2 separate regions of the Homo sapiens genome follow, and region 2 is linked to region 1. The links are contacts of gene promoters, found by promoter capture Hi-C in blood cells and fetal thymus (Javierre and others, 2016). All regions are on one chromosome and are shown on one strand. The core of a region is centred on a gene start or on the middle of the fragment in contact, and the rest is flanking DNA. Distances in the headings are between cores, read along the strand shown. Region 1 overlaps KIAA1328. Region 2 holds the start of ZNF24 (zinc finger protein 24).

Evidence for each region. Contacts are between HindIII fragments. The CHiCAGO score rates a contact against its expected background, and 5 or more counts as called.
Region 2: the fragment with the promoter of ZNF24 here is called in contact with a fragment that was not itself captured in region 1 in 1 of 17 cell types (non-activated CD4 T cells); the score reaches 7.8 in non-activated CD4 T cells.

What each region holds. Positions count from the first base shown.
Region 1 is chr18:36,831,284-36,837,041 of GRCh38, forward strand. It overlaps KIAA1328, which reads left to right. Exons shown (of 10, transcript NM_020776.3): 2 at 3,037-3,072; 3 at 3,951-4,093. Among named protein-coding and RNA genes, the nearest start is that of KIAA1328, 5.0 kb to the left of the region's middle. The HindIII fragment of the contact is 1,113 bases long and covers 1,988-3,100 here.
Region 2 is chr18:35,341,785-35,347,542 of GRCh38, forward strand. It overlaps ZNF24 (zinc finger protein 24), which reads right to left and starts at 2,636. Exons shown (of 4, transcript NM_006965.4): 1 at 2,576-2,636. It overlaps LOC124904283 (a long non-coding RNA gene), which reads left to right and starts at 2,270. Exons shown (of 2, transcript XR_007066337.1): 1 at 2,270-2,955; 2 at 4,644-5,758. RefSeq lists an enhancer at 1,954-2,013 and a silencer at 2,694-2,863. The HindIII fragment of the contact is 2,541 bases long and covers 430-2,970 here.

The DNA of each region.
Region 1 (5,758 bases), core at 1,294-3,793:
ATCTGTGACTCAATGGCACCTTTTTTTTTTATTGTTGTTGTTGTGAGTTATACATCTCCTGCACAGTATGATTCAGCAGTGCTGTTTTGCACAAGGAACGTTTTAGTACCTCATCTGTAAACAATGAGTGTGTGGTGTTGTCATGTTATGGGTTAAATCTTCCAGCAAAATATGCTCCTTCAGTTTAAGTTGCCTTTGTCCTTCATTACAGTTCCTAGTAATGTCAGAATGAGTTAGTGTTTCAGCAGTACCTAAATTTGACTGCTTAAATGCACTCAAGTGTATTACCATTAGCAATATCATGGACTTGATATTAAAAAATATGAACTGCAAGTGACCTGGTCAAAACATTGCAGTATAATCTCTGCTGTTGAGTTTTCAAATGGAAACAAAGACTGTATGTTGTGGTAAAAATAATATATTAGCCCAGAAAGTCTCTGTGGTTGATAATAATTACATATACATGTATTGCTGGCAAAACTCAGCAGATTAGAGTAGAATGGGCAGTACTGAACTTATTTCCTTCAAATCCTGGAGGTCTGGGATAGAGGTGCATCTTCCTCTCTACCACTTCTGCCTGGGTTTCTAATTACAGTTAGCCCTCTGTATCTGCTGATTCATTCAAATGTGGATGGAAAATATTTGAGAAAAAAAAGAAATAGCACACAAAAAAATACAAATTAAACTGTACAATTTAACTACTATTTATATAGCATGTACATTGTTTTAGGTATTATAAATAATCTAGAAATGACCCACTAGTAGGCCCACTATACATTTGGTATATAATGTGTCTGTTTGACTTCCCCATAAAATATACATTTGTTGGGAAATTCTAGATTTGAAGGAGGTAAATATTTGGGTTCTTAATATAATGAGATGAAAATACATTACAAATTATTAGAAAGGATAGAGGCAATTTCAAATATTGTTATTAAAAATATTGAAGTAGTTTGTTTAGAGTTTTATATATTTGAAAATAAATTTGTCATGGATGTAGCTGAAAGTAAAAGGTTTTGTTGGCCGCTTGCGGTGGCTCACACCTGTAATCCCAGCATTTTGGGAGGCCAAAGCAGGTGGATCACAAGGTCAGGAGTTCAAAACCAGTCTGGCCAACATGATGAAACGGCCGTCTCTACTAAAACTACAAAAAAAATTAGCCAGGTGTGGCGGCGGGCACCTGTAATCCCAGCTACTCGGGAGGCTGAGGCAGAGAATTGCTTGACCTAGGAGGTGGAGGTTGCAGTGAGCTGAGATCAAACCGCTGCACTCCAGCCTGGGTGGCAGAGCGAGACTCTGTCTCAAAAAAAAAAAAAAAAAAAAGTTTTGTTTGCATATTTAGAATCACAGAAATATAACATATAAGGTTGTTGGACAACACCTCATAAAATTAAATCAATACCAATTTTATTCTTTCATAGATGGAGCCAGACATTCTTTTATGTTTGAGGGTACAACACTGAACAAAATAAAACAAAAATCATTACCCTCTTGGTGCCTACATTTTAGTGAGATGAGATCAGGTCATGAATAAGGAAAATATATGTTCAATGATTTTTTTTTTTTTTTTTGAGTCAGAGTCTCGGTCTGTTGCCCAGGCTGGAGTGCAGTGGTGCCATCTCAGCTCACTGCAAGCTCCGCCTTCTGGGTTCACACCATTCTCCTGCCTCAACCTCTGGAGTAGCTGGGACTACAGGCACCCGCCACCATGCCCGGCTAATTTTTTTTTTTTACATTTTTAGTAGAGACAGGGTTTCACCGTGTTAGCCAGGATGATCTCGATTTTCTGACCTCGTGATATGCCCACCTCGGCCTCCCAAAGTGCTGGGATTACAGACGTGAGCCACTGCACCTGGCCTATGTTCAATGATATTGGTGCTGTGGAGAAAAAATAAAGCAGGAAAGAGGCAGATAGTAGCGGGAGGTAGGTAGGTTGTGGGAAGAGAGAGTTTTGCAATTTCAAGTACCTATATGGTTAGGAAGTGAAAGCTTCAATCAGAAGGTGACATGACATGACATATGACATAAGTCCTAAAGTGAGCCATGAAGATATTTGAGGAAAGAGCTTCCTGGGTAGAAGAAATCATACCTGCAGAAGCTATAAGGTAGGAGCTTGCATAGCTTGTTAACAATTATAAGAAAGCCAGGAATGAGTGAGAGGAATAGTAGCAAGTGAGATCAGAGATGTAACAAGTTACAGGGATCAGATCTTGAGCATTGCAGGCTGTTGTTAATACTTTGGCTTTTAATCTAAATTAGAAATGACATAACTATTAAAATGATCATTCTAACCACTGTGTGAAAAAATAGGCTGTTAAGGGAACATGCACAGAAGTGACAGAGAGCAGTTAGGAGCTTATTGCAATAATCCTGGGAGAGGAAAAGTTGAGTTGGATCAAGGTGACAGTTGAAAACAGTGTGTTATAATCATAGCCTTTCTAAATTTCTCCTTTTGAAATTCAAAATAGTTCTTTTTGTCTTAAATTTCTTCTACTTTTTAAATAGTAGGGCTTCTTGGGATATTTTATGAATACACTGTAGAAGAATAAATAATGTCTTTGTGTTTGCATGATTGACTTGCCCTCAGTGTTTGTTCTTCAAAGCTAAAGTCTATCTTGAAATTATTTACTCTTCAGAATTGTCAGTTCCTCAGTAATGACCAAACTGGAGCACTTAAGTTTTTGTTTACAAAAGGAAAGGAACCTAATAGTAGAGTATATATTGCAGGGTAACCCACTTGAGAGTGGATAAAAGTTTCATGGAACAAGACCTTCCAAGATTTTTATAAGATGTGTAGTTGTGAATATATAAAGGTGAACTTTTAGAGAATATTAATTTTGCTACATTTAATTCAATTACTTTGCTTTCTAACTTTGTTTTTAATTCAATTACTTTGCTTTCTAACTTTGTTTTTAAAAGTTAGTTACAAATTCCCAGGTCAAAAGAAATTATGAATTATAAGAGGTATACAGAACAGAAGCAGCATTTGGATGCCGGATAATATTATTGTATTTTCCTTCATGTTCTCCTGCGTAGTTTCTGATGAAGAACAATCAGTAGTATACGTTCCAGGTATGATTTTCTATGTTAAAATTTGGGAAGCTTACTTTGGTCCTTAAATGTTAGAAGAAAATAAAGCTATTAGAACAATGTTGCGGGTATAAATAACTGAATGCAGAGCAGTACATCAAAACCTAAAATTTGTTTTTTTTGAATATTTGTCATAACCCTATTAAGGTTTGAAATACTGGCTTATCTTTGGGATTGGCTGGCCCAATCAGCTTTTAATGAACTTGTAGAACACTTCATGTGGCAAGGGGCAAAAGATTCTTTTCTTATTTTTTCTTTTACAAATGATAGCCAAATTTAATATTTCAAATAAAAGTGTGACTACTGCTTGATACAGGGTATATGTAAGAGGCACTTCAAGTTTAATGGTTGTAACTAGATGGTAGTAAAGCAACTATTGAAGGCACCCTCATTATATAGGGTGAAAAATATCATTGATTTCCCCTAAGTTAACATATATTTGGCATATCGTAATTTATTGGTTTTAATGTGACTTATGAATATTTACAGTACCCTTTACAAATATTTCAGTTAAGCTGGATGTGGTTGCTTGATCCTGTAGTTCCAGCTACTCCAGAGGCTGAGGTGGGAGGATTGCTTGAGCCCAGGAGTTCAAGTCCAGCCTGGATAGACATAGGAAGACCCTGTCTCTTTAAAAAAATAAATATAAAAACAAATTTCAATTCAATCTTTAGTGTATTTCTTTAAAACATATTCTTTTTATGATTCATATATTAAGAGCTTTAAAATTAAGTTTATAAAGTAAGAGAGTTTCCTCCATCAGGTCCCTTAAAGTAGAGGATTCCAAGGAAGGAGTTGATGGGGGAGGGTTTAAGATAATAAGGTATAATTTTGAAATCTTGTTTAATGGAAATCCTTAGGAATTTCTGCTGAAGGAAATGTCAGATCAAGACACAAGCTGATGAGTCCAAAAGCTGATGTTAAACTTAAGACTTCCAGGGTGACTGATGCTTCAATCTCCATGGAGTCCTTAAAAGGCACAGGAGATTCAGTAGATGAACAGGTTAGTATTTTTTTCGTCTTTTTTTTTCCTTGCTCTCCAGTCTTTATGAGTGCTGACCAAAAAGGGTAGAAGAACCTTTGAAAGTATACTAGGTGATCAACAAACATTCTTAAAAGATACAGAGGATTCCAGGATCCTTTGATGATGCCAGGTTTGAGCCTAAATTATCTGGATTACTCAAGGGTTTTGCTCCAAAACATCTGACTTGCTGTAAGCATTAGCCATGATAATGTATTATCTTGATATGTCTCAAAAGAACTACATTCTGATCTGTGTGGCATTGGTAAATCAAACTGATGAGAATTGCTTTTTAATTAGGCATCCTTTTTGATTTTTATTCTTGTGAATTTATTTGATAGATGAACCCTCGTAAAGATGAGGGACAAATCAATGACTAGGCATAGTAATAGTATCGGTGCATTCCTTTGGCACATGTCCTATCTGACCAGTTTATTTTACTTTAATTTTTGTTATATTTTCCCTCTGCAACCAGAGTTGTTCAATACCACTTCACACTCACTAGGATGTCTACACAAAACTTGTATATGAATGTTCTGGAATCTATAACCTGTGGACCAAATCCTTCTGCCTGTTTTATAAATAAAGGTTTTTTGGAATACAGCTGTGCTCATTGTTTTACATAATTGTCTATGGTTGCTTTTGTGTTACAATAGCAGGGTTGCTACAGAGACTGCATGCCCACAAGCTAAAAACATTTACTATCAGACCTTTTATAGAAAACTTTTTTCAGTCTGTGAATTATGTTCTCAAAGATATTTCCAGTGCCTCATTTATTACTACAGGATTTTACTGTGATTGAATCAAAAGGCCTACTTTACGTTACTTGTACCAGTGTACCCACTTCACACTGGGGTGTGAATAGTTGAATTTGCAAGTTCTTATCAAAAAAAGTTAAAAAATGTTTTTTCACATAATGGTTGATTTGTTTTACATTGAACAATAGCCTTCTTTTAGATTAAGTTCATATTTTTGTCCTATTGGCTATAACTTTTGATTGGATTATTTCAGTGGCTTCTTTAGAGATTATAGTATACATCTTTCATTTATCATAGCCTATTATCAAGTGATATTTTCCCACATTACCTATAGTTTAAGGACCTTTCAACACTGTACTTTATTTCTCACCTCCTGACTTTTTTGATATTGTTGTCATACATTTTACTTATGTGCACAGACCCCAAAATACATATTACATTTGCTTTAGTCAACTCTCTTTTTTTTCAAATTGAGATATAATTTGCATATAAAATTCACCTTTTTAAAGTGTACAGTTTATTATTTTGATTTTGTATGTGTTTATATTCACAGAGTTGTGGATCCATCACCACAATCTAGTTTCGAAACATTTTTATCACTCTAGAAAGAAACCCCATACCAATTAGGCACTTCTCATTCCCCAGTCATCTCAGCCCCTAGCAAACACTAATCTGCTTTCAGTCTCTATAGATTTGCTTGTTATTGATGTTGCATATAAAAGGAAATCACATAATATGTGGCCTTTTGTGACTGGCTTCTTTGATTTAGCATAATGATTTCAAGGTTCATCTATTCTGTATCATTACTTCATTCCTTTTTATGTCTGAATATACATTTTGTTTATCCATTTATCAGTCAATGGACATGTTCAACTTTCTAGCTATTATG
Region 2 (5,758 bases), core at 1,386-3,885, 1.5 Mb before region 1:
GAGGCAGGAGGATCACTAAAGACCAGGAGTTCAAGGCTCCACTGAGCTATGATCACACCACTGCATTCCAGCCTGGGCAACAGAGTATGACCCTGTCTCTAAAAAATGAATTTAAAAATAGCAAAAAGCTGTGCCGGGCACGGTGGCTCAGGCCTGTAATCCCAGCACTTTGGGAGGCTGAGGCAGGCAGATCACGAGGTCAAGAGATCAAGACCATCCTGGCCAACATGGTGAAACCCTGTCTCTACTAAAAATACAAAAATTAGCTGGGCGTGGTGGATTGCGCCTGTAGTCCCAGCTACTGGGGAGATTGAGGCAGGAGAATCTCTTGAACCCGCGAGGTGGAGGCTGCAGTGAGCCAAGATCGCGCCACTGCACTCTAGCCTGGCGACAGAGCGAGACTCTGTCTATAAAAAAAAAAAAGCAAAAAGCTTACAGAATAAGGATATAAATATATTTGTACAGCTGTACAATGTGTTTGTATTTTAAGTGAAGTGTTATCACAAAAGAGTAAAAAAGTTAAAAAAAAATGTAAAAGTTTGTAAGTGAAAAAGTTCCAGTAAGCTAAGGTTAATTATTGAAGAAAAATGTTTTCTTAATAAATTTAGTGTAGCCTAAGTGTTCAGTGTTTATATGGTCTATAGGAATGTACAATAATGTCCCAGGCCTCCAAATTCACCACTCACTCACTGACTTCTTAGAGCAACTTCCAATCCAGCGAGGTCCATTCATGGTAAGTGCCCTGTACAGGCATATCTTTTTTTTTTTTCAAACATTTTATATCATATTTTACTCTTATCTTTTCTATGTTTTGATACACAAATAGTTAGCATTGTGTTACAATTCTCTACAGTATTCAGTACAGCAACATGCCGTACCGGTTTGTAGCCTAGGCGCAATAGGCTATACCAGATAGCCTAAGTGTGTAGTAGGCTACGCCATTTAGGTTTGTGCAAGTACATTCTATGACGTTCACACAAGGATGAAATAGCCTAACATATTTCTCAGACCATAGCACTATCGTTGAGTTATGCATGACCTTATTTACTATATGGCCGCTTACAGAAAAAGTTTGCCAATCATGACCTACTAAGACGACAAACCCTATGTCAATAATCAAAAGAATCCAAGTAAGAACCAGACTACTTCAGTGCTTTCTAAATGTGCCTGACCCTGGAACGCATTATTTCCAATTCAGGATTGGTGTTTCCTGACACACACAAGTCAACTCAAAAGGAAGGTTCGCTTTATTATTATGTGCTTAAAAAAATTTTCTTTACCATTTAAAAAATATTTTTAAGGTGTTTAAGAACTCCTTGGACTTATATGTGAAAAAATGTTCACTTGCTGAGTAGCAGATCACATAATATTGAAAAGATCATATGTGAAAAACATCACATAATTTTGAAAAATTATCTTGCACATAATACGTAAATATTCAGTCTTCCACCACACCATACGTACATTTATATTTATAATGATAGGCATTAATCACAGAAACTTCTATTAAGAAAAGGCACTCGCATAAGCACCTTGACTTCCTGCAGTGGTCCAGTGTCTTGTCCTTACACTGGAGGACTCACAGTTTCCCCAGCTTCTACCTTCAGTGAAACTGTATACTGCTTCTGGACCTTTATTATTTGCACGATCATGCCCGTGCTGTTGTTTACGACACATACTAGCAATGAGCCATTCAGCCTATTTATTTATTCAGGGCCCAAAATCTGAACAATAACAACTTAAAAAAACTTATTGTAACCCAAGCAAGATGAAGACTAGAATCAGAAAAGGCCTTATCAGACAAGTAATACATACTGGTTTAATTAAATACCCTGGAGTGTGGTGGCCTTATACATAAGGTCTAGCCAACATTCATTCGTTCCTATTCCAAGACCCTGCTTATCAACGGTGCAAGTATTTCTACATAATTTTCTCTTCCTTTTATGCTGTAGAGCATACCGCTTGTGGGAAATGGAGGGAAGGCCCACGGTCCCGACAATGTTTGGGCAGGGTACCTCGTCCCAGGTGGATCGCCCACCTTACTGCTGCATAGACCTGCTGTGTATCCCGGCCCCGGCCCCGGCCCCGGCCCGACGTCCTCTAGCCCCTCTTCCCAGCACTCAGGACCGCGGATTTCAGATGACCAAAGGCCACCCTGTGACAACAGCGTCGGAACCACGGCACTTCCGCCTGCGGCCGGTGAGACTACAAATCCCAGAAGCCCCGCGCAAGTCTCGTCCCACTACCACCCCCTCCCATCACGACTCCCAGAACCCTCCGCGAGACGCCAGGGCCTCGAAATAGAACAAAACCGGCCGGTGGGGGAGGGGGAAGGTGAGGGTCTCGGAGGACACAGGGGGTTAGAGAGCTCTCTGCAAATGCCGAAGACCCAAGCAGGCCTGCCGCCTACCCCTCCCCGCCCCACAACTGCTAGGCGCGGAGACCGCGGCCTGTTCCCCGCGCCTCCCGGGAAGCTGAGGAAGGTCCCGGACAGGCTTCCCCGCCGGCTCCTGCTAAGAGGTCCGCAGACCCTAGCCCGGTGTCCCCCCTCCCTCTCATAACGTTCCCCGCACACCGGCGCAAACCTCCGGCTCAGGAACCGCAGCAGCTTCGCTGTCCACGGCAGACGCAGAAACGCCGTTCACAAGCCTTTTCCCAGAAGCCCCCGGCGCGGGCTGCTTCCGGTCTGCGGGCCTGAGGAGGCGGGGAGAGGTAAAGCCCACGTTGCCATGGAGAAGCGCCCCGGGCGGGGGAGGGGCGGCCCCACGACAATGACCGCATTGAGGCTGCGCTTGGCCTCGCGCCTCTCCTCGAACAGCCCAGCGTCCTCTGGACCGTTTAAAAGAAAACATAAAGAGGACTCTACCATTAAGATAGTCCTTACAATTTCGCAAGCCCTTTCACGTGCATTATCTTGTGGATCCTCTCAGTAATCCCCTGCAAGAAGGAATGAAAGTGAGTGTTTGTGAAAGCTTACTACATTGTGCCAGGCGCTCTCGTCGTGCTTTACATGTCATTTTTTTTTCCACAAATAAATGATGTAGGAACTTTCATTATCCCCATTTCACAGCTGAGATAGTTGAGGCACAAATACAGTAAATAACCTGACAAGAGCTCACAACTCATTTGTGGGTAGCAAGATTTGAAACCAAGACGTGATTCAAATCTTTGGCTCCCACTAGTTATGTCATGGAGCTTTATTCCGACCTATTTATCTGTCAGGAAAACTAGATAAGACAGGTTAAGAGTTTTGGCAGTGATGTCACGGTGAATTTGTAGAATGCATGGTCATCTTAAAGCTGGGCATTTTATACCATAAAACAACTGCTGACGCGATCATTTAAAATTACAAATCAGACCACTTCACTCCCCTATTTAAAGCCCTCCAATTTATGTCATAATAATTTATGACATAAAAACTCCTTATAATGGCCTGTAAGTCCCCTGTGGTCTGTTGCCTGCCCGCACCCCCAGACCCTGGCGCCCCCAGTCACCTCAGCTCCTCGGCTCATTGTGGCCCAAGATCCTCAGCCTCACCACCTGCCTTTCATGGCGCATGACCCTTCATGGCACTGTTATTAATGGAAGTGATCTCATTTATTTACTTGTTTTATTTTTTGTTTTGTTTTGTCTTTAAGTCCCTTAAGGGCAGGGACCTTGTCTGTCTTGCTCACCACAGTATCCCATCCTAGATCCTGGAAGCTGACTGCCTGGTAAATAGAGAACTCAATAAATATTTGTTGAATAAATAAATGAATTGTGGGATGGTTACATTGCTGCCTTTAGCTAGGTCACATGATTGGCATCAGACACCACACAAAGGAGCCCTGTTGTTTAAGGACTGGTCAAAAGTGTAGATCCAGCCTAACATAAGCATTTCAAGATCCTCAGGCTTTGACTTTTTGCCTCATTGGAGAAAATGCCCTCTGAAAAGTGCCGTCAGGCTCCGCTGGATTCGTGCATGAGAGAGCAAGTGAGCGAGCAGCTGATGGTATACCACTGCTTTTCATTCCGACCAGAGCTCTTCTCACAACCCCTGCTAACACTTCTCTCCATTGCAGGAAGCTTCAGAAGTACAGCCTTTTCACTCTGCTACTTGGATACGGCCCCTAAGCAACTTGGCTGCTCTTCCCAACCTTTCCCTCTTATCTGATTTGTAAAGGCTAGCTGAAGGCATTTTTGTTTTAAGAGTTTTTACATCTAATTAATGTTGGAAAACAAAAATAATAAATCTGAAACCTAACCTTGAGGAAGTTAAAAATGTTGCAAAATTTTACAAAACCCTTTTCCTGTGATTATATTGTTTGTTTTGTTTTTGAGACAGGGTCTTGCTCTGTCACCCAGGCTGTAGGGCAATGGTGCAGTCTTGGCTCACTGCAGCTTCAACCTCCCAGACTCAGTGATCCTCCCGCCTCAGCCTCCTAACTGGGCATTTTATACCATAAAACAGCTGTTGATGCAATCATTTAAAATTACAAATCAAACCACTTCATTCTCCTATTTAAAGGCCTCCATTTTATGCTGTAATAATTTATCTTGAAATGCTTATGGAAGGCTGGACTTACACTTTTGATAAGTCCTTAAACAACAGGTGTGCTCCACCATGCCCAGCTAATTTGTTTGTTTGTTTGTTTGTTTTTCAGAGATGAGTTCTTCCTATGTTTCCCAGGCTGCTCTCCAACTCCTGGGCACAAGTGACCCTCCTGCCTTGGCCTCCTAAATTGCTAGGATTGCAGGCATGAGCCACCGTGCCTGGCCTCCATTCTATTATTATTAATTATTTGTAAACTACTAAATGGAAACCACAGTAAGGTTTTCCTCACTAAGTTACTCCTTTGAGGGCAGGGGCTACTAACACCCGCTTTGAAACACCATCCTTCTGAGGTCCTCTGGGATTTTTTCCTGAATGGTGGCCCTTGTTGCCATCTTAAAGATCTAGTCAAGATAAAACATGTTCCTCTGGACAACCTGAATGGAGGGAGCAGCTTCATACCCGGGCCTGACAACCTTGCACATATCCACATAGGCCACATAGGCAATGCCTGAACCACAGCTGATCTGAGTCTTGGCAGAACACCTTGGGATCTTCCCAGAAGATGAGTGCATGAGAGGCTTGTAAGCAGCTAGTGCAAGGCCATTTCCCACTCAGCTCTCTGTCTTCCAAAGAGACTATCATGAGGCAGTTTCTATTGCTTCCTGGGTTCCAACGAGCCATTCTGCCTTACCCTCTTAGAGTACAGCTGCAGGTTATAACAAGGCTTAGCTGCAGCATGGCATTAACCCCTCAGCAACAAGGTGTCCACAGTGTATGCTGTAGTCATCCAGCCCCTTCTGTTTTGGTGTCATCATTTTGGTATCTGAGACAAAAGCTCATGGAGAGCTGGCACTTGCTTTTGCTTTCAATGTCTGTGCAAATAATAATATGTCTAAATTCAAAAAGGGTTCATTTCTTTACCAGCCAAATCTTTCAACCTTGCCTTGATACCAAACATCTGATTCATTAATTAATGGTAAAACGAACAAAATGACCAGACAGATACTACCTGGGTACCAGAGATAATAGAGATGAATAAAATGAAGTCATGATTCCGTCTTTGTTTTTCCCTTTAAAAGAGATGAGATCTCACTCTGTTGCCCAGGCTGGAGTGCAGTGGCATAATCACAGCTTGCTGCAGCCTGGAACTCCTGGTAGGGATCCTCCCGCCTCAGCCTTCTAAAACGCTAGGAGTACAGTTGTGAGCCACCATGTCCAGTTTGA